Regions from separate parts of the Homo sapiens genome. Here regions 2, 3, 4 and 5 are each linked to region 1. Evidence: promoter capture Hi-C in human tissues and cell types (Jung and others, 2019). All regions are on one chromosome and are shown on one strand. The core of a region is centred on a gene start or on the middle of the fragment in contact, and the rest is flanking DNA. Distances in the headings are between cores, read along the strand shown. Region 1 holds the start of ZNF18 (zinc finger protein 18). Region 2 overlaps TMEM220-AS1 (TMEM220 antisense RNA 1). Region 3 has its middle 40 kb from the start of ELAC2. Region 4 has its middle 100 kb from the start of PIRT. Region 5 has its middle 21 kb from the start of ELAC2.

Region 1 (4,180 bases), core at 494-2,993:
TGAATTACTGTTATCTTCCTTGGGTGTTGATCAGCTAAAAGCGAACACATTGAAGATAAAACTCCTATAATCTTCCCCTCTAAACCACCTTATCTCTTGACTTTCTTAGAAGCAGAGCACATTGATGTTGGAAGCAATACCCAATGAAGGTGTCCCTCTAAATGTGCCTGGTAAATTGTTAGCCATGCTGTCCTCAGGAACTCAAAGCAGCGCCATCAATCACATGAATGTTAGAAACGTCCAGCTAGGTGCCATGGCTCATGCCTGTAATCCCAGCACTTTGGGAGGCCAAGGTGGGTGGATCACTTGAGGTCACGAGTTCGAGACCAGCCTGGCCAACATGGTGAAACCCCGTCTCCACCAAAAATACAAAAAAAAAAAAAAAAAAAAAAAAAGACTAGAAACTTCCACCTATGTCAGGCTGAAACAGTAGTTTCACACATAGGATCTTGTTCAGACCCTGGGACTTAAGAGAACATGTCGAATCCCTTTTCCGCTGGTCACTTTTCAGGTACATGAAGATGTAATCCCATCCCCGCATCAAGCTTTATTTCTCCAGAGGAGGATCTTTAATTCTTGTAAACATGGGACAGGTACAGGACATGTTATGATAATGACAGGTACAGGACATGTTATGATAATGACAGGTACAGGACATGTTATGATAATGACAGGTACAGGACATGTTATGATAATGACAGGTACAGGACATGTTATGATAATGACAGGTACAGGACATGTTATGATAATGACAGCTCTTCTTTAAATTTTTATTTTTTATTTATTTTATTTCCATAGGTTATTGGGGAACATGGCAGCTTTTTTTGAATACCCTCCTCTTTGCCAGTTGCCCAAGGTGGAACACCCAAACTTTGACATGATACTTCCATTAATGCAACTTAGTATCACAAGTTGATGTCGTGGCCCAGCACAGGATGGCCTGGAAACCGGCAACACTGGACGCTGGGGAAAGGGTAAGAAGGTCTTGACCATTACAAATGGTGTGGAACTGAGCCGAGGGAGGGATAGTGAGAAGGGAGAGAGGGTGAGGTGTCTGAGAGACAATGAGGTCAAATCAGAGGATTCAGCCATTGTTGGCGTGTGGGAAAGGGAAGGAGAAGGGAAGAGTCAGGGATGACATTTGTTGAGAGAGAGAGAGAGAAGAGAGAGAGACGCAGGTGGAAAGAGGATGGCACCACATTGGACTAGCCCCAACGGAATGGGGAGAAGTGGGAGAGGACCCAGGGGATGCAGAGCTGATGAGAGTGGGAGAACCAAGACAGAGGAAGAAGGTTGGGGCAAATCAAGTGTCTCAGGGAGGCCCAGTGAGGCAAGAACGGAAAGGAGAAAGGCGGCGGTTAAGAATCAGGGATAATGGCAGAGCGTTGCAGCTCTGCGGGTGGGACTGGGCGGAAGGGTTTGGGAGAGACAAAGAAATGATCTTTGAAGGCCTCGCAGTGCTTGGCCGAGTGCCTGGCACAGAATAGGTGCGCAATAAATGACGGGTGAGAAGTGAAGGAACTCAGGAACAGTGATTAGTGAGTGAGTGACGGAAGGAACGGAGGATGGCGTTGGCTCGGGAACCTCGCTGCCATGTCGGTGGAGGCTCCTGGGCTGCAACGCCAGAGAGAGGCGGGGCGTCCCCGACGGCCAATAGGAGCTTCGGTATCAGCTCCGCCCCCGCCCCCTAGCTCCGCCCGGTGCCGCACGTCGTTCGCCTGCCGCCTGAGGCGCGCGCAGCCACCCAGCTCCCGGAAGTGCGCCCGGAGCCGGCGCCGCGGGCCGAGGTGAGCGCGCTTGCGGGGCGGTCCCGGCCTCCGGCCGCTCGGGGTCAGGCCTTGCGCTATCTGCGTCCGCACCTGACTCAGCTGGGCACCCCGGAGCTACGGAGGGGCCAGCGGGCTCCCTTGCCCATGCGTCTGGGAGCGCGCGGGGGACGTGGCGAGTGCGGGGCCGGGGCAGCCATGGCTGGGAGTGGACCGTGGGTGCGGGGGGATGTGTGAACCCCGTCCCGGCTCTGCATTCCTGCGCCTCTGCGCCCCGCGGGACCGGCCGGGTCTCTGCACTGGGACCGAAAACGGGCTCCTCCCCGCTGTCTTCCCCTAAGGGCTGAAAATGAGTCTCTGGAAGAGGAAACCCGATGGGATGATGCCTGGAGTCTCTCCCTCTCTCATCAGAGTGCAGTCGGCATTTGGGGGGCGCATGGTGGAGAATACATATCCAATGAGCAGCGCTGCCCTGGCCTCGAGCACTAAATGCCAGTTCCCCTAGCTGCTTGTGACAACCAGAAAACGCCCCAACAAATCACCAGACGTTGGCAGTTCTCCCCAAAGCAAAGGCTTTAGAGCTTCCTGGGTTAATCTGGCTGCCACTTGTGAGCCTCGGAGGTTCCTGATCTGTACACCAGGGTAATTGTGGGAATTGGAAATACATGAACCGAGCTTAATAATGAGCCGATACGTAGTAGGTGCTTAACAAATGGTTACTTATATATGTAACCATGTATGTAACCACTTGTGTATATTACACCTAGAATGCACTTTTAAAAATTCATTCTATTTGTTAAAGGTTTAATAACAGGTATAACAGACAACCTTATTTTTTTTTCATAACTAATGGGGGCAGTTCCTCATGAGGTTATCGGAATATAAACTCTATTAAATTTTTAATACTATATAAAGTAATTTAATTTTGAATAATCGAGACATTTTTCTTACACACTACCTGGGAGTATAATATTACTAACAAAAGATTTAAGTATTTTATAAAATCTGTAGTTTTTCCAAAATGTCATTTCTCTTAAATATTATCTAAACTGCTATCTTAATTTAGGAAACAGATAAATTGCAGTAAGTTTACAGGTCGGTATCTTGCTATCTAAAATCTTGCCGCTTGTTATTTGAAACTCTTGAGCCAAATAGGTTGGATTTACAAAGCAAGGTATTTTTAAAAATATATTTATTCGTTTTTTAAGATGTTATTTGAAACTGTAGGTTTACCTCTGAGCTAAAGCTGCTTTTCAGGTGGTTTGATAATGCTGTCATTGTCACTCAGTATGAAAACATATTTTAATTTCCTTTGTGATTTTTTTCTTTGACTATGGGTTAAGAGCATTATTTAGTAATTTCCATAAATTGGGATTTTCTAGTTATTGTTATTGATTTCTACTTTAATTGCACTATGATCAGAGAATATATTTGAACCCAGGAAGCTCTAAAGTTTTCCATTTGACCTTTCTGGTTTTGTTTCTCTTGTGTTCCTTTTCTATCAGATATTGGGTTTTTGAGTGTTTTTTGGTATTGCTTTAATGGCTTTTTAGCAATACCACTTTGCGTAATATTTTTAGAGCTAATTTTAAGATATCAGTCATTTGAAAATTATGCATATGGTCTGTTTTGATGAATACTCTTTGCACTTGTAATGAATGTATACTCTGCAGTTCTTGGGTCTAGTGTTCTGAAAATGTCAATTAGAGCAAGTCGGTTGATAGTGTTCAGATTTTTTGACTTCACTGACTCTTTTTTTTTTTTTTTTTGAGATGGAGTCTCCCTCTGTCGCCCAGGCTGGAGTGCAGTGGTACGATCTTGACTCACTGCAACTTCCGCCTCCCAGGTTCAGGCTGTTCTCCTACCTCAGCCTCCTGAGTTGCTGGGATTACAGGTGCGCACCACCATGCCCAGCTAATTTTTGTATTTTTAGTAGAGATGGGGTTTTACTGCGTTGGCCAGGCTGGTCTCAAACTCTTGACCACAGGTGGTCCTCCCGCCTAGGGCTTCCAAAGTGCTGGGATTGCAGGCGTGACCCACCGCGCCTGGCCTGGGTTTCTTTTTTTTTTTCTTGCAGTGGTGTGATCTCGGCTCACTGCAACCTCTGCCCCCTTGGGTTCAAGCAATTCTCCTGCCTCACTCAGCCTCCCTGGTAGCTGGGATTACAGGCATTCACCACCACGCCCGGTTAATTTTTGTATTTTTAGTAGAGATGGGGTTTTGCCATGTTGGACAGGCTGGTCTTGAACTCCTGACCTCAAATGATCCCCCTGCCTTGGACGCCCAGAATGCTAGGATTACAGGCGTGAGCCACTGCGCTCAGACCTGGGTTTCTTTTTAAGCAAAAAATAAATTTAATGAGGACCACATAAAAAACATTTGGTATTGGATTACGGTTGCAAGGGTCCATTTAT
Region 2 (4,180 bases), core at 975-3,474, 1.2 Mb after region 1:
AGCCCTGCTGAGCCTCAGGCAGAACAAGCAAGCGAGCAGGTCAGCAGCTGTGGAAGTGAGGCACGCTCATACTGCAGAGTCATGCACCTTTCCCCCTCGGGCCTCACCCTGGCTGTGCCGCGTGCCCAGGAAGGAACAGGCCTCCACGCTGCTCTGCGTCACTTCAGATACCACAGCACTGAGCCCATGGGTGCCCCTCACACAGGGCAGGGAGGGAGGAGGAAATAGGAGGGGCCACAATGCCACCAGGCAGCTCCACATTGAGCCGGACTACATCTGATCTGGACTTGTCCTCCCAGAAAGCTCTCCACCAAAGGGCTGGGCATGGTGAGCCTCCTACTGTTCCCCAGGCCCACCTCATGGCCCCTCCTCCTGTTCATTCCCTCTAGAGGCAATTGGGCCTTTTCAGTGACCTGAACTCTGTCCACCCTGCCACTTACAGGCTGAGTGACTATAGGTAGCCCCCTCCTATTAGGAGGTAATAATAATGACATCACAATCACAAGTGATCCAGCACCAGTCTTCAGGACTTCTGCAGCCTCCTGAATTGGCAAATACCTTAGAAGGTATCATGCCTCATGTCTGTAATCCCAGCACTTTGGGAGGCTGAGGCAGGTGGATCACCTGAGGTCGGGAGTTCGAGACCAGCCTGACCAACGTGGAGAAGCCCCTTCTCTACTAAAAATACAAAATTAGCCCGGTATAGTGGTGCATTCCTGTAATCCCAGCTACTCCGGAGGTTGAGGCAGGAGAATCGCTTGAACCCGGGAGGCAGAGGTTGTGGTGAGCCAAGATCGCATCATTGCACTCCTACAGCAAAACTCCGTCTCAAAAAAAAAAAAAAATCAAAATGTAGAGCTGTAAATCTTAGGCCATCACCTCCTGATTCTAGGGCTATAAACCTGTTGTTTTCAAAGCTATTTAAGGTAAGGTTTGCCATAATGATCAAGTCCACATTTCTCACAACCTCATCCCCATGGCTTATTGCAGAGATGACCAACAGGACCCACAAAACCAGGGGAAGGCGGTCATACTAGGTGGAAGGTCAGCCCACCCCCCAATCAGTAGCCTCGAAGCCCCTCAGATTGAACTCATCTCTCAGTGAAATTACAGTACAATTGAGGAAGGGGAGCTTATCCTGGCTGGATCACAAGCTGACCGCCACCGTTGAGGCAGGCTCAGAAATGTATTTGCATAAAGGATCGGAGAGCCTCCTGGGTAAAAACAAACCCTAAGGGTACAGGGAGTCAGGCAAACAGGCTTGGCCTAGTAGCAGAAACTTCACACGGATATGTTCAGCTTCCTTTACCTTCCATCTGTGTTTGTTCTCAGAGAAAAAGGGTTGCAAAAAGGAATAGAATTGCGGGGGAAACATACTCTCTATGATACTGGGATATACATCTCAGCACTTGAAGGCATCCAGCATACACTTGTGTTTGTTCCTGGTAGACAGAGTAATAATCTGGCAGAAAAATAAAACAATAGATGCCAACTAATAGCTGACTGAACTTGTTTAAGAGCTGAATCAGTTCTTCCAAGACTCCCAGAAGTTTCTTGGCAGGGCAGGCACACAAGGGGAATAGGCGCTAGCCAGGAAAACAAGGATAACAAAAAAGCCATTTCTTGTCAGGGGTATTGGGAAGAAAGGCTCAGAATACCAGAAGCTGAATATGAATCTGGGAATACCACAGCTTTGCTGTGTGAGCCAGTGCTATGCACAGATCCAAGGACTAAACAAAGGGAATGGCCAGAAGCAAGTGCCTGTGACTTTACAGTAGCCACATGGTTGCAGGCTTACGTGTGTTCCTTTATTCAACAGATGGTCACCTTGGGCCTCATTCCAGCCTGGGTCCCAAAGACTGCCTCAACCGGAACTTGGAAGGTTCCTTAGCATTTGACACTGGTAACTTTTAGAAAAGGAAGGGAGAAGTAAGGTACAGATTCCCACTGGAGCCACCCTGCCATCAGACATCTCTGCCATACCCCATACTGCACTGGTCTGTGTGTACCCAAACCCCCCCAAGTCAGCATGCAAATAATTTGCATGCCATTTCTACACACTATTTTATAAGTTAACACCTTAAATGCCGAATTTGGCCTGCCTCTGCTTTCCAAGTTTCGGCACCCAGTTTACTATTATCTATTTCTTTTCTTTCCTTTCTTGTTTTTCTTTCTTCAAACTAGCTGTGCCTGCACCAGCCCCAGCCCTCGAGAACAGCTCTTACCTATTTCACCCAGTTCACTTCCAGCCAAAGCCACAGGCTTATCCCACAGTGAAAAGGACAGAGGCCCTCCATCAAAGCTTTTTTCTGTGTTGGGCATATACCCAACACACACAGACTCAGCTTGGATGTCCTCTCACCCCTTGACCCCATCTTTCTGACTAATCCCTTCCACTCCGCATCAATCTGGGGCTCTGTGACCCTCCCTTCCCAAGTTCACATCTACCTCCCTGGCTGCAGCTATTCAGAATCTGAACTCTGACCCCTGCCCAGGACCTCTCACTCTGAAGAAGAGTCCAGGGCTACAACACCCAACACCAGACCTCTGTAGCTCCCTGGGAACAATAGAGCAGTGATTCTCAAAGTGCAGTCCCTGGACCAGCAGCCTCAGCCTCCCCTAGGAGCTTGTTAGAAATGCAAAGACTTCAGCACTCCGTCGAGTAACAAACTCATCCCAGTTTCCCCAGGACTTTCTTGGTTTCAGTATTGAAAATTCCACATCTTGAGAACCCTGATCAGTCCTGGGCAAACCAGGCTGGCTGGTCATACTAACTGTATCCTAGACCTGCTAACGGAGCAGCAACGGGGGTAGGGGTCAGCAATGGGTATTCAACAAGCCCTCCAGGGGATTCTGATGCCCGCTCAAGTCTTATAACTTCACCTTAAAGGGTTTTTGATGCTGAACTTGTGCCTGCCTGAGGGCTGCCCTCTGGGTGAACCCCTCTTGTCCATCTTCTCTCTGGGCACAGGAAAACAAACCATGTCATTTGGAGTCCTCCCAGACTGCACCAGCCCCAAGCAGCTCTGTCAGCTGTGAAGAACCTCAAGTCCTGTCCAGCTGATACCGTCTTAAGTCACCTGCAACAGGTGTCCTCACCAACTAGGGGGGTGCACTCATTTTTCCTCCCATCTCTTTCACATTTCAATTTTCAAGGAAATCGAGTTTCCCTTTGTTTGGGGAAAAAGTCATGTGGGATGGGGGAGCTTGCTGGGCCTGGTGTACAAAAAAGGAGGGAAAAGGAAGGAGAGGGGTCTCGGTGGGGTGGGGGAAGGGTGAAAGGTATTGAGGGAATGACGTTGATGGAAGGAGGATTAAAAGAAGGCTGGGATGGAGAACAGCAGTGGCAAAGCCATGGAAGAGAGAAAGTGAGAAATGGGAAAAGGTTTCTCAAAGTGTGGTTCCAGTGGACCAGCCGCGGCAGCAGCCCCTGGAACCTTGTAAGACATACAGATTGTCAGTCTCACCGCAGACCTACTTAATCAGAAACTCTGGGATTGGGTCCCTCTGTGTCTGCAGTTTAAAAAGTCTCCCCGGCCAGGCACAGTGGCTCACGCCTGTAATCCCAGCACTTTGGGAGGCCGAGGCGGGCAGATCACGAAGTCAGGAGATGGAGACCATCCTGGCTAACACGATGAAACCCTATCTCTACTAAAAATACAAAACATTAGCCGGGCGTGGTGGCGCACGCCTGTAATCCCAGCTACTCAGGAGGCTGAGGCAGGAGAATCGCTTGAACCTGGGAGACAGAGGTTGCAGTGAGCCGAAATCACACCACTGCACTATAGCCTGGTGACGGAGCGAGACTCCGCCTCACAAAAAAAAAAAAAAAAAAGGCTTCCCAGTGATTCTGATGACAGCTATGGTCTGAGAACCACTGGGCAAAACAATTGTATTTCTTTAAGCAAGCATCCTACTCCCCTTGAGGCTGGGTTTTCTCGTTTTCAAATTTCTGCTGGTCATAGTGGCTCAGGAGAGAGATGGGGATTCTTCTAATGTGGCTCTCAAATAACACCTCTTGCTGCTGGCCTAAAAACTTCCTGAGTCACACCTGGGGACAAATGGCTGTGATATCTGCCTTTCCCTCCATGGCTCTCGCTGTGCCATTGGTCCCGCCAGCCTAGGGCAGCTCTAGACTGGGCTGCCTCTGGTGCTGTGTCATTTCCAAATCTAGTCAATA
Region 3 (4,180 bases), core at 905-3,404, 1.1 Mb before region 1:
TACTAAAAATACAAAAATTAGCTTGGCATGGTGGCGCATGCCTGTAGTCCCAGCTACTCAGGAAGCTGAGGCAGGAGAATCACTTGAACCCGGGAGGCAGAGGTTGCAATGAGCAGAGATCGAGCCACTGCACTTTAGCCCGGCGACAGAGTGAGACTCAGTCTCACCAAAAAAAAGAAAAAAAAGTGATTGATTATAGATGTACACAATGGAATATTATGCAGTCATTAAAAATGATACTACACAGTCATATTTTATAACACGAAAAGATGGTCACAGTGAGTAAAGATTATTAGGACTATAGCTACGGTAATGCTGTCCAGCAGAACTTTCTGTGTTAATGAAAATGTTCTTTATCTGTATTTCCCAAAAGCCATGTACAACTTCTGAGCACCTGAAGTGTGGCTACTACAAATGAGAGACTGAATTTTAATTTTGATTTTAGTTTTTTTTCTATTCTAATTTGAAGAGCTATATGTGGCTAGTGGCTACCATATTGAACTGTGCAGACTGATGGTATGAGACTATTTTACCTCCAAATATATGTACAATAATAATATTGGAAAGACATACAGCAGAATGTAAACAATGGTCATCCCTCGGGAGTGGGGCTATGGTTGTTTCAGTTTTAAATGTGTTTAAATATGGAAGGGTTTTTTTTTTATTAATTAATTAATTTATTTATTTTGAGACAGAGTCTCACTCTGTCACCCAGGCTGGAGTGCAGTGGCGTGATCTTGGCTCACTGCAACCTCCACCTCCCGGGTTGAAGGGATTCTCCTGCCTCAGCCTCCCGAGTAGCTGGGATTACAGGTGCCTGACATCGCACCTGGCTATTTTTTGTAGTTTTAGTGAAGATGGGTTTCACCATCTTGGCCAGGCTGGTCTTAAACTCCTGACCTCATGATCCACCCGCCTTGGCCTCCCAAAGTGCTGGGATTACAGGCATGAGCCACCGCGCCCGGCTGCAAGGGGTTATTTTTTAAATGGGAGTACAATGTGCTTCAAACTGCTTTGAAAACACTGTTCTGTGTGGAGAGTGGTGAAAACTTCGGGCCGGTCACATGGGTCCCTGAGGGTTTGCCTGACCACCCAGGCTGAATCATATTTAATTGGAGCCCCAAATGTCCCCAAAGGATCATTCCAGATGTCACGGACTCATGTCTCGGCACACCAAGGATCACTTCCCCAGTCGCAGCCCTGGGCTTTGGTCAATGTTATTTTCCTAAAAGTTTTCATACCTGATGGGCAGAGTTAAGAGAAACTTGTGTGTCTGATGGGGCAGGAGGCCTGGTTTTAATAGAGGCCATGCCGCCGGTTGTGGGATCAGCACTCCTTCTCACCCACCGTCAAAGCTTTTCATCACTTCATGTGCCCCAATCCGGAGAGATTTGCTTCCCATTATGGCTCCAAGCCTAGTTCTCTATCCCAGGAGCCAGGCATCGGCACACCTTGTGGATGAAAAATTATCCAAGCTGCTAGTGCAGTGGGAGAACTAATCCTTCCACCATGGGTAGCTCAAGGTACTTAAGAAATCCTCTGGTACTGCAGGAATCGCCATGAGAGAAGTTGTCCCAGATGCCCACATCTAGGGGCACCTAAGGCCCATCGCATCATACTGCTTATGTCCTCATTTGTCTGTGCTCCACCCCAAGACCAGCAAGAAATAAATGAGGCAGACTTTTCACAATCTTTGACTCTTACTGTTTTTTTTTTTTGTTTTTTTTAGACAGAGTTTTGCTCTTGTCGCCCAGGCTGGAGTACAGTGGGGCCATCTCGGCTCACTGCAACCTCTGCCTCCCAGGTTCAAGCAATTCTCCTGCCTCAGCCTCCTGAGTAGCTGGGATTACAGGCGCCCGCCAACACGCCCAGCTAAGTTTTGTATTTTCAGTAGAGACTGGGTTTCACCATGCTGGCCAGGCTGGTCTGGAACTTCTGACCTCAGGTGATCCACCCGCCTCAGCTCCCAAAGTGTTGGGATTACAGGCTTGAGCCACCGCACCCGGCCTGACTCTTACTGTTTCTTAAACAAAACGTGCCATTTTGTTATGTCCTATTTTATATGGTTTGCTAATTGTGGAATATTATCCTCCACGGGGTTACCATGGTGCCTCCAAGCCCACAGCCTCTTCCAGATAAGACTGTCCCATGAAGATGCAGCCCGAAAAGCCAGGTGGCTTTTCCCACACCTAGTAATAGGACCCCATTTGTAAGCTGGCCAGCAACCTGAGATGTGGACTGGCACAAAACCATAAATGGACCAGTTCCTATGCAGCAAGAAACACACAGTTAGCAGTGAGAGCTGAACTGAGGTACAGCTGTAGCCATTAGCTGAATTTAGTGAAGAAAAGCTATGAGATAGAGAAAGGATATGAAGAATTAAGGTAAAGAATAAACCATTTAGTAGTGAGACAGGAAGAAGCAGACAGGAGAAGATCAGCTTAATCATGATGAATGGTGGAACCCAGAGCAAAGATTCACCAGCTCCAGCTGTGGAAGTCCACTGAGCCATCTTGGATTCATCCCACTGACATGGTTTGGATCTCCGTCCCCGCCCAACCAAATCTCATGTGGAATTGTAATCCCCAATGTTGGAGGTGGGGCCTGGTGGGAGGTGATTGGATCGTGGAGGTGGCTTCTCATCAATGGTTTAGTACCATCCCCCTTGACGCCATTCTCATGATTAGTGAGTGAGTTCTCATGAGATTTGTAATCCCAGTATTTTGGGAGGCCAAGGCGGGCAGATCACCTGAGGTCAGGAGTTTGAGACCAGCCTGGCTAACGTGGTGAAACGCCGTTTCTACTACAAATACAAAAAATTAGCTGGGCGTGGTGGCAGGTGCCTGTAATCCCAGCTACTCAGGAGGCTGAGGCAGGAGAATCACTTTAATACAGAAGGCGGAGATTGCAGTGAGCCGAGATCGTGCCATTGCACTCCAGCTTGGGCAACAAGAGCAAAACTCTGTCTGAAAAACAAACAAACAAACAAAATTTGTGTGGCACCTCCCCCGAGTCTTCCTCCTGCTCCTACCTATGTGAGATGCCTGGCTTCCCCTTTGATTGGAAGCTTCCTGAGGCCTCCCCAGAAGCAGAAGCTGCTATGCTTTCTGTACAGCCTGCAGAACTGTGAGCCAATTAAGCTTGTTTCCTTTATAAATTACCCAGTGTCAGTTATTTCTTAATAGCAGTGCAAGAACGGATGAAGACACCCATCTGCAGCTTCCTACTCTTCTTGAGGCCTCCGTGTCTGGCTTTTCCTGGGTTCTATGCTAGTGTACATTTTCAATAAGCCCCCATTACTTGAGGTAACTGAAGTTCTCATAAAACAAACACATGCCCAACCATTCCTTTGCATGGTTCTTGTTCCTAGAATGGAAGCATGGTTGAAAAGGGCTGGCTTTAGGCCAGGCATGGTAGCTTACGCCTGTAATCTCAGCACTTTGGGAGGCTGAGGTGGGCAGATCACCTGAAGTCAGGAGTTCAAGACCAGCCTGGCCAACATGGTGAAACCCCATCTCTACTAAAAATACAAAAATTAGTCAGGCATGGCGGTATGCACCTGTAATCACAGCTACCTGGGAGGCTGAAGCAGGAGAATCACTTGAACCTGGGAGGCAGAGGCTGCAGTGAGCCAAGATCGCCCCACTGCACTCCAGTCTGGGCAACAGAACAAGACTCTATCAAAACAAAACAAAACAAAAAAAGCTGATTTGGATAAGAAAGCATCTCGACACCTGTCCTTGCGCCTCTCCTAGGCTCCATTGGTAGAGGTCCCCCAAAGGATCAACCAACCCACTAACACTTCCAAACTCCTTGATTCTTCATGGAAAACCCCGACAATTCTCAGATACGAGAAAACAGGGCGGCAATTTAACATGACAGAAACGTGGTAGATCTTTGGGACATGGTTTTAAGCCAATGTTAGAATAAAATATGGAAGTGATTTAATTAAAATAACAACAAAACATCTCAATACTTATTTTTCAAATGACCAGGCAGTAATTGTAACTTTCTTGGTATATGTACACTTCTATGAGTTTCAGCATGTGTAAAGATTTGTGTGAATAATGCTATAATAGGAATAAAGAATAATTAAATCACCTTAAAAACTGCCTCCTGCCATCCATCTATAGTCAGGTATCCCGTCACGTCACGTTGGCCACCACTGATCCATTTATTG
Region 4 (4,180 bases), core at 860-3,359, 1.1 Mb after region 1:
AGCATTCCAAGTAATCATTCAGTACAGGCCTTTTGGGGTTTAACTCTCTGGTGGCAAGAGAGAGCTTTGATTTTCCACACCCTTGGTGCCTCTTGGCTGCTGACAGCAGCCAGCGGGGTTGCCAGGACTGGAGCAGGACATAAAAATGGGACCTACAAACATTGACACTTCCCCCTATAAAAGGCTTTGCCCAAGAGGTGTCAGCAACATGGCTTTGCTTTTCAGATTTCATTTTATGCTCAGAAAGAGGAGGGCTTTGATCAGCCAGTGAGTTCACTCTGAGTGACAGCTGCAGTTAGTAGCAGATGGGTTTCTAGAATAAGCACCTACAAGCCTACCTGGGCAAGGTCTCCCTGAGCCCTATGTAGCTTCACTGAGACAAGCTGCAAAAAAATGTCACGTTAAGGCAAAGCATGCTATGTATTACACATAAATATATATGTTCCCTTTTAATATAAGGGAGGACTAACAGTGATGTTGCTCCCCACCTAGTATGGAATCATAGTCCTTAGAATTCAAAGAAATGTCCAAGGTCATCAGACCCTGTCTTCTGCCAGATGTTGGAAGCCTTTTCCTAAGCCCCCATGATCTTCACCAGGATTTTAATTAGGTTTCAATTCATAAGCCCATCCATAATCAGTGGAGCATCCTATAGTTGAAGTTTGCGAGCCCATATTTGGGTTCATCAAGAATGTCATATGATGTTTGACAAGGGCTCTGGTGGGAACAGCAGCAGCATCAGGGCGAGGAACTTGCTACCTCTGAGCTCAAGCGTCAGCAGTGTTACTGGTAATGAAACCTCTTTCTGCTAAATAGGCCTGGCCCCTGTAGCTTAAGGGGTGACATATGACAGGCAGAAACCAGCCTGAATGGAGAATTGTGATGACTTCGTAGGCACCTTGGCCAGCAACTTATAAGTGGGTAATGAGACACCTCAAATCCAACCACCAGAAGTGTATTGACAAAGGTTTATGTTGGACCTGTGCCCCAAAGTGGGAGATATTTTTCCTTGGCAATCCCATGCAATAATCTCACCTTTTATTGTTTGTTTGTTTGTTTGTTTTTTGAGTTGGAGTCTCGTTCTTTCGCCCAGGCTGGAGTGCAGTGGCATGATCTCGGCTCACTGTAAACTCCACCTCCCGGGTTCAAGTGATTCTCCTGCCTCAGCCTCCCGAGTAGCTGGGATTACAGGCGCACACCACCACACCCAGCTAATTTTTGTATTCTTAGTAGAGACAGGGTTTCACCATGTTGGCCAGGATGGTCTGGATCTCTTGACCTCACGATCCACCCTCCTCGGCCTCCCAAAATGCTGGGATTATAGGTGTAAGCCACCGCACCCGGCCTGTTGGTTTTTTAAAGCACCTTTAGATATATTATAGCATTCAACTCTAAGCACTGGAAATGTCCAGACAGGCCCAGAATCTTAGTACTGAGACTTCTTCCTGCTTTCATGCATAATCCCTAATAACAAGAAACAAAAGCTAACACAAATGCTGAAATGACACAAATCCTACTTAATGGAGAAATGGTGAAAGTCAATATGTGTCATCAAGAGGAACGCAGGCTAGAATCACTAGATAGTCCAACTGTACATAAGGAAATGCAAAATTTTCTTGAGGAGGAACAGGACCAAATCCCCAAACATAAAAGAGAAGCGAATTAATTACTGGCCAGAGGAGACTAGACTTCATGCGCACTCAGGCTGTGTCTCCAGCCCTGTGCCTGGAAAGTGAAGAGCCCATGCAGATTGCTGTTTGAAATTACACCTAAATTTTGTTGATCTGTTCTCTGAATTGAGAATAAAGTTCATGCTTTTGCATTCCCTGCAAGAAAAGGGTTCCTGAAGTCAAATAGATTGCCTAAATCCTATTTAAGGGAATTACAAGAACATACTGATTTTAAGGACTTCAGCGCACTAATTGTCAGAATAAAGATGGATAAAACCAATTACCAAGGGGATTCAGAGAGTTTCCAAAGTGGTCCTCCAGGACCTCCACTCAGAAACACTTTGTCAGCAATCAGTGGTGCTGTGTGTATATGAAATTGGGTCTAAGAAGTTAATGGGTTTTTTGAAATAAACTAACGCCGGCCCCACGCCGGCCAACAGTGGGTTTATTCTGCTTTTAAAAATATCTAATCTATAAAGATAACCTAGATTTATAAAAGAAGTCATATACAACAAAGAAAAAGATTTGCTGTATGCTATTCCTATGAACAGTAAGCTCTCCTACCGAATCTGAAATTTTATCTTTCCTAAAAATAAGCTTAAGAACAACTGCTTAGGAAGATGTCAGTTATATAAAGTGACTCACATCTATGAGGCAGATTTATATCAGCATGTTCAGGACATTTTATATGCCCTCTGGTGAGACCTGCCCTGGTGTGAAGACAGAGATTGTGGCTTTGCGTGGGCTGTGGTTGCTCCTGGTTTGCAAGGGAACAGGAACTGATCTTCCTTGCTGCTAACTGGAGTGTGTTTTCCTCTGTAGGAGTATCCATTCGTTTATATATCCAGCAAGATTGTATTGAGCACCTGCTATGCACATAATATATGCGCAGACATATACCTAGACATGAATAAACACGAGGCATGTGGAGTGTGTAGGAAGTCAGTGCCAGTCTTTAGGGATTGATAGTGGGACTTTGTTAACCTTTTTGATTGGTACCAATGTCTGCTTCCTCACAACACCCCAATTTTTTCCAAGGAGCCCCCTTACTTCTTGGATTCATCATGAGGGGCTGCTGTCAGGTTGCCCACCCCCTCCTGGTCAGGTATTGGGCTGGGCCAGTTGGCTGCTTCCTCCCTGAACTGAACTGAAAGTGTTGGCAATTCCAGGTCGTCTGTGTGCCACTGTTTTGACTGGGGTGTCCCTGACACAAAACGGTAGCTGGGCTTCTTCTCCCTAACCTACAGTGTTGCAAGGGTATCTCTCCAGCTTTTCCTCCTTCTGTGACTCTCTAATAGGCTTTCAACATTCCCTCCCACAAAGTCAGCCAGAACCATTTTCTGTTGGTTATAACCAAACCACCACATGGTACTAGACCTTGAGCCCTGATCCTGTGCATCAGAAACTTTCCCTAGCATAGAAGCTGAGCCTTGCTCCCTCCAGTACCTGTGCATTTTCTAACTGCTTGGAACTCATCTACTTTGGGTCTCCTTTGCTATCGTTTTAGAGGAAATAGCGTCCCTCCTTTTTGAAATTGAGCCTCCACACAGTAAGGTGGCCAACTCATCTGCATCTGCCCGGGACTTACTATCCAGTTTTAGCATTGACAGTCCCATGTCCTGAGAGCTCCCTCAGTCTCAGTAAAACAGGATGTTTGGTCATCCTAACTGAGAGCTTTTATCCCATATCCTTATACATAATAATAGGAGTTTTGCCCTCCCTCAACCAATCATGCAATGTTTTGCTTGGATTACCCAACTTCCCCGCTGTCCCCACTTTCTAAGAGAGTTTACAGAGTCGCCACTATAATCCACATCTCCAGTCTTAAAACTCTAACCTACCTTCTCTCCAACTGGGTCTTCAAGAAGAGGTGCTCTGCTGACAATTCACACCAACATATTCCAAACAACGTTCATTCTCTTCTCACAAACACTAGTTCCCTGTGTGGGTGGCCACTGCCGCTTTGAAGGCAACATATCTAAATGGCAATATAGCCATCAAGTAAATACCAGACAGTAAATACCAAAATGCCCCATTTACCGTAGAGAAACACTTGTACATGTGTAAACAAGCAGACACAAGGACATTCATTAGAGGATTGTTTACAATAGGAGAAAATGAAACTCTCCCCCAGTAGCATATTCATAGAGGGTAATGTATAAATAAACTATGGTAGATCCCTACTGTGGAATCCAAGCAGCAGTGAAAAATAACAATTGCTAATTTGTATACAGCTTACTACACTGGGGGCACTGTTCTAAGTTCTTAAGTGTATAGAGAAAGGTCTATAAAACTACTTCTCAAAACAATGTCTTTACCTCTAAGAAGGGAATTGAGTTTATCGGGAGGTAGCCAATAATGACTAATGTTTTTATATTTTACTCAGGATAATATTTCCACAAATTATTTGATTAATAAAAATTATGTTTTAAAAAAACTACGGCCGGGCATAGTGGCTCACTCCTGTAATCTCAGCACTTTGGGAGGCCAAGACGGGTGAATCACGAGGT
Region 5 (4,180 bases), core at 493-2,992, 1.0 Mb before region 1:
TAAAGCTATCTTATACTTCACCCTACGAGTCATCTTGTTAGCATACAAAAGACACTCCTATAGCTCAGGAAATTCCAAGGGTTTTAGGAGTTCTGTGTCAAGAATCAGTAACAAAGAGAAAACATATTTTATGATAATACCTCAGTTGGACAAGGTAGGAATTAGTGTTATTTTGTGGAAGTTTTGTTCTCAACTGTTCATATATGTGTTTGTGTGTCTTCCTTCCGGATCTTGATATAAAAGATGTTTCTTACTGTGGACTGTGGTAAAAACATTTAAAAATCTGGCAGCTAGACATGCCTGCCTCCAAGACTGCCCTGTAAAGTCTGACATGTTCACTGTTTAAAATTTAAAAAAAAAAAAACTTTAGACAAATTAAATTGACAGAGTTTAATTGAGCAAAGCATGATTCGCAAATTGGGCAGCCCTTTCCTCCCCCAACCAGAATAGGTTCACAGAGACTCAGCGCTGCTGTGTGATCGGAGAGGATTTATGGACAGAAAAAGGAAAGCGATGTACAGAAAATGGAAATGAGGTACAGAAGCAGCTAAATTAGTTACAGCTTAGCCTCTGCCTTGTTTGAACAGGGTTTGAACAGTTGGCTGCCTGTGATTGGCCAAAATTCGGTGATTGGTACAAGAATAGGAGACAACCTGTTTACACATCTGCTTAGGTTCCAGTTCACTATGTAGGGAGCAACTTGGAGACTGAATGTAAAATATATGCAAGGAGACAGCTTTAGGGTAAGCTTAATTTAACGTCACTATGCTGGTGCTTCAGGAGGGCTGGTGGATGACATTTCTCCGATCCTTCAACTCCTCTTTCTGGATCTTCATTCCCCAACTCCTCCTACGATGTATAGGATCTAATTCCTATAATAAATCTTATGTTCCATGTGTTTTCTTAAAAGAAGTTTGTAAAACACCTTTCTGGAGGAGACATTATACAGTATTTGTAATGATTTGTGTCTGTGTGCAAAGACTTGACAAAAACATGTAAAACATAAAAAGAAAGGCCAGACAACAAGTGCCTTTAACGAGCAGGAAAAGCTTCTTATAAGAGGTAACATTGAACTGAGCCTTGAGTGATGAGCAGAGACACCCATGAGACAACAGCTCTCAGAACAACAAATCTGCTTTTCTCTCTCCCACTAAGCGTGATCACTTCACTTCCATCCAAGTCTATTCTGCATTTATCACTTGAAAATTCAGCAAAATATTCATCCAACTAATAAGAAATCAGCCAATTCAGTTGCATGCTTGCATCTGTGTGTTGTTTCCGGTGAAATTGTCCCAAGAAGATGCCCCAAACCCCAGGCACCCAGAGCCTACCTAAGACAGAGGTTAGACCAGGACAACAGAAAACCTATTCCCCAAATTAGAGACTTTAAAAGGTGAAGTTTACTTATTTCTTGTAGGGCAATAAGTGGACTGACCATAAAGAGAGGAGTCCAGATGTCTTATTGGGTTCCCTGGAAACAGATTCTGGAATGAGTTGCATATAGAAAGTTCACTGTGGAAAAGACAGCAGTAAGGAAAGAGGAAAGGCAAGAATAGGCAGAGGGGAAAATTGACCCACAATGTAGCTGCAGCTGACGCCTCAGCCAGTACAACAGGGAGCTCTGCAGTTGGAGTAACTCTTCAGAGATGCCCGCAGTTGAGGTAAGAGGGCTGAGCTTTTGTAATCTCAGGGTAAAGCAGTTCCCTGTAGCCATGGACAATTCTCAACGATGACCATGACTGTGAGCCCTCACAGCTATGAACGATATTCCTAGGAGCTAGGAAACGGGTGTGTGGGCCTTGAAAAGGGCATCTGGTACAGCCCACCATGATCTAACACAATCCTATATTCTGGTTAACTGGCTTTCCAGTTACTGGCCTGGAATGAGTATGAGCTATAAAGACAAATTTTGTCAAGGTTTGATTAAGCCTGTGTGACTGCGTGACTCCTTTGTTGTAAGTACAGAATTTAAAACAGCATTAAGAGGAGAAACAGTCTGATAGGCAGGGGTAGACCCAGTCCTTTGACAAGAGATATTTCCAAGGCCAATACAGAAAGAGGACAGCAGACTTCTAAAATTATCAGATTCAAAAGAGTGTATGAAGAACCATCTGTCATTTTTGGATGGCCAGAGATGATTTTTTCTGGTGATAATATCATCCCTATTTTGCTTTAGGAGGCCATTTCTTTCTCGCCATCAGTCTATAAGGTTAGGATGGGCTGGCCCTTTCCCTTCATTCTATAGGTGGGCAAGGAAACCATCTTGGCAAATAAGAAGTCCCCCTACTTCTGGGATTGTTCAGAGTTGGGCATACAATCCAAACTAGCCAATGAAAGTTAATGAACCTCATCCCCAAGACTTTCATTGGAACATTTGTGAACAAGACCTTCCCTTTCTGCCAGGGATACTAAGATAATGGACCATCTGCCTGGAGCTTCCAATATCCATCTGCTTCCTCCTGGGTAGAGCCCATCTGAGAATTAGACCGACAAAGAGGAGCGTGGGACTCAGAGGTAGAGTGGGACAAATTCCTGGTGATATCTTTTGAACATTGGTGTTGCTATAAAGGAATATCTGAGGCTGAGTAATTTTAAAATAAAGAGGTTTATTTGGCTCATGGTTCTGCAGACTGTATAAGAAGAATGTTTCCAGTATCTGCTTCTGGTGAGGGCCTCAGACTGCTTCCATTTATGCTGAAAGGTGAAAGGGATCCAGTGTGTGCAGAAATCACATGGTGAGAGAGGAACCAAGAGAAGGGTGAGGTGCCAGTCTCTTGTTATCAACCAGCTCTTGAAAGAACCAGTTGAGCAAGAACTCACTCACTACCACCAGGATGGCACCAAGCCATTCATGAGGGACATGCCCCCATGACCCAAACACCTCTTACCAGGCCCCATCTCCAACACTGGAGATCAAATTTCAATATGAGGTTAGGAGGGTCAACTTCCAAACTATAGCAAGTGCCTAGATATAGTCATCACTGAAGATTCCCTACCATGTCTGCCTCTGGCCTTTACACTTCATTGAGCTAGTAACTGTTCTTTTTTGCTGAAGCCCGTAAGTTGTTCTTTTCATTCTGAAAAGAGTTCAAACCAATGCCACATGACACCTGAAAGGGAGCAGATGGTCTTACGAGCTCCTCTCCCAACCTCTCCAGTCTAATCCATCCAAGCTTTTCACCCTTCATATGCACAATCGTCCTACTCCTCAGGGTGAACTGGGGGTGAGGGAAGAGTCTGCAGTTTCATCAACAAGCCAATAGTGACCTGGGAAGCATTTATGGAAAAGTGAAGATTTGAATGTGGATTTTAAAAACAGTCAGAGTAGGCTAGGCACAGTGGCTCACGCTTATAATCCTAGTACTTTGGGAGGCCAAGGCGGGTGGATCACCTGAGGTCAGGAGTTCGAGATCAGCCTGACCAACATGGTGAAACCCTGTTTCTACTAAAAATACAAAAATTAGTTTGGTGTGGTGGCACACGCCTGTAATCCCAGCTACTCGGGAGGCTGAAGCAGGAGTATCGCTTGAACTTGGGAGGCAGAGGTCGCAGTGAGCCGAGATCATGCCACTGCACTCCAGCCTGGGCAACAGAGCAAAACTCCATCTCAAACCAAACCAAACGAAACAAAAATAATAAAAATAGTCAAGGTAGAGACAAAGAGGAAATTGAGGGGAAATACAATGCGTGAGAACTCTAGGGAAGGAAAAACTTTTCTTCTACCCTCTTAGGTTCTGTGGTTGGGCCTGAGAATTCAGTTGATAAAACACAGACTATCAGGAGGAAAGCATACACATTTTATTTGATATTAATATTTTGTGTTGTTTGTTTGTTGTTTTCTGAGACAGACTCTTGCCCTGTTGCTCAGGCTGGAGTGCAGTGGAGTGATCTTGGCTCACTGCAACTTCCACCTCCTGGGTTCAAGCGATTCTTCTCCCTCAACCTCTCAAGTAGCTGGAACTACAGATATGCACCACCACGCCTGGCTAATTTTTTTTTTTTTTTGTATTTTTAGTAGAGATAGGTTTTGCCATGTTGGCCAGGCTGGTCTTAAAATCCTGACCTCAGGTGATCTGCCCACCTTGGCCTTCCAAAGTGCTGGAATTACAGGTGTGAGTCACTACACCTAGCCTGATATTAATATTTTTGTGTGTACATGGAGACCTTCATATACAAAAAA

The links. Contacts are between HindIII fragments. The study calls those that stand out against the background at their distance.
Region 2: a contact is called between a fragment that was not itself captured here and the fragment with the promoter of ZNF18 in region 1, in 1 of the 25 tissues and cell types used here (dorsolateral prefrontal cortex).
Region 3: a contact is called between a fragment that was not itself captured here and the fragment with the promoter of ZNF18 in region 1, in 1 of the 25 tissues and cell types used here (pancreas).
Region 4: a contact is called between a fragment that was not itself captured here and the fragment with the promoter of ZNF18 in region 1, in 1 of the 25 tissues and cell types used here (aorta).
Region 5: a fragment that was not itself captured here is called in contact with the fragment with the promoter of ZNF18 in region 1 in 1 of the 25 tissues and cell types used here (heart right ventricle).

What each region holds. Positions count from the first base shown.
Region 1 is chr17:11,995,038-11,999,217 of GRCh38, reverse strand. ZNF18 (zinc finger protein 18) reads left to right here and starts at 1,743. Exons shown (of 7, transcript NM_001303281.2): 1 at 1,743-1,787. RefSeq lists enhancers at 1,175-1,254, 1,325-1,564, 679-1,662 and a silencer at 1,595-2,044. The HindIII fragment of the contact is 7,782 bases long and covers 1-4,180 here.
Region 2 is chr17:10,788,274-10,792,453 of GRCh38, reverse strand. The region is part of intron 1 of TMEM220-AS1 (TMEM220 antisense RNA 1); the gene reads right to left. Among named protein-coding and RNA genes, the nearest start is that of TMEM238L, 14 kb to the left of the region's middle. The HindIII fragment of the contact is 7,595 bases long and covers 1-4,180 here.
Region 3 is chr17:13,056,413-13,060,592 of GRCh38, reverse strand. No RefSeq gene overlaps it. Among named protein-coding and RNA genes, the nearest start is that of ELAC2, 40 kb to the right of the region's middle. The HindIII fragment of the contact is 3,964 bases long and covers 173-4,136 here.
Region 4 is chr17:10,937,776-10,941,955 of GRCh38, reverse strand. No RefSeq gene overlaps it. Among named protein-coding and RNA genes, the nearest start is that of PIRT, 100 kb to the right of the region's middle. The HindIII fragment of the contact is 8,978 bases long and covers 1-4,180 here.
Region 5 is chr17:13,037,377-13,041,556 of GRCh38, reverse strand. No RefSeq gene overlaps it. Among named protein-coding and RNA genes, the nearest start is that of ELAC2, 21 kb to the right of the region's middle. The HindIII fragment of the contact is 3,904 bases long and covers 1-3,694 here.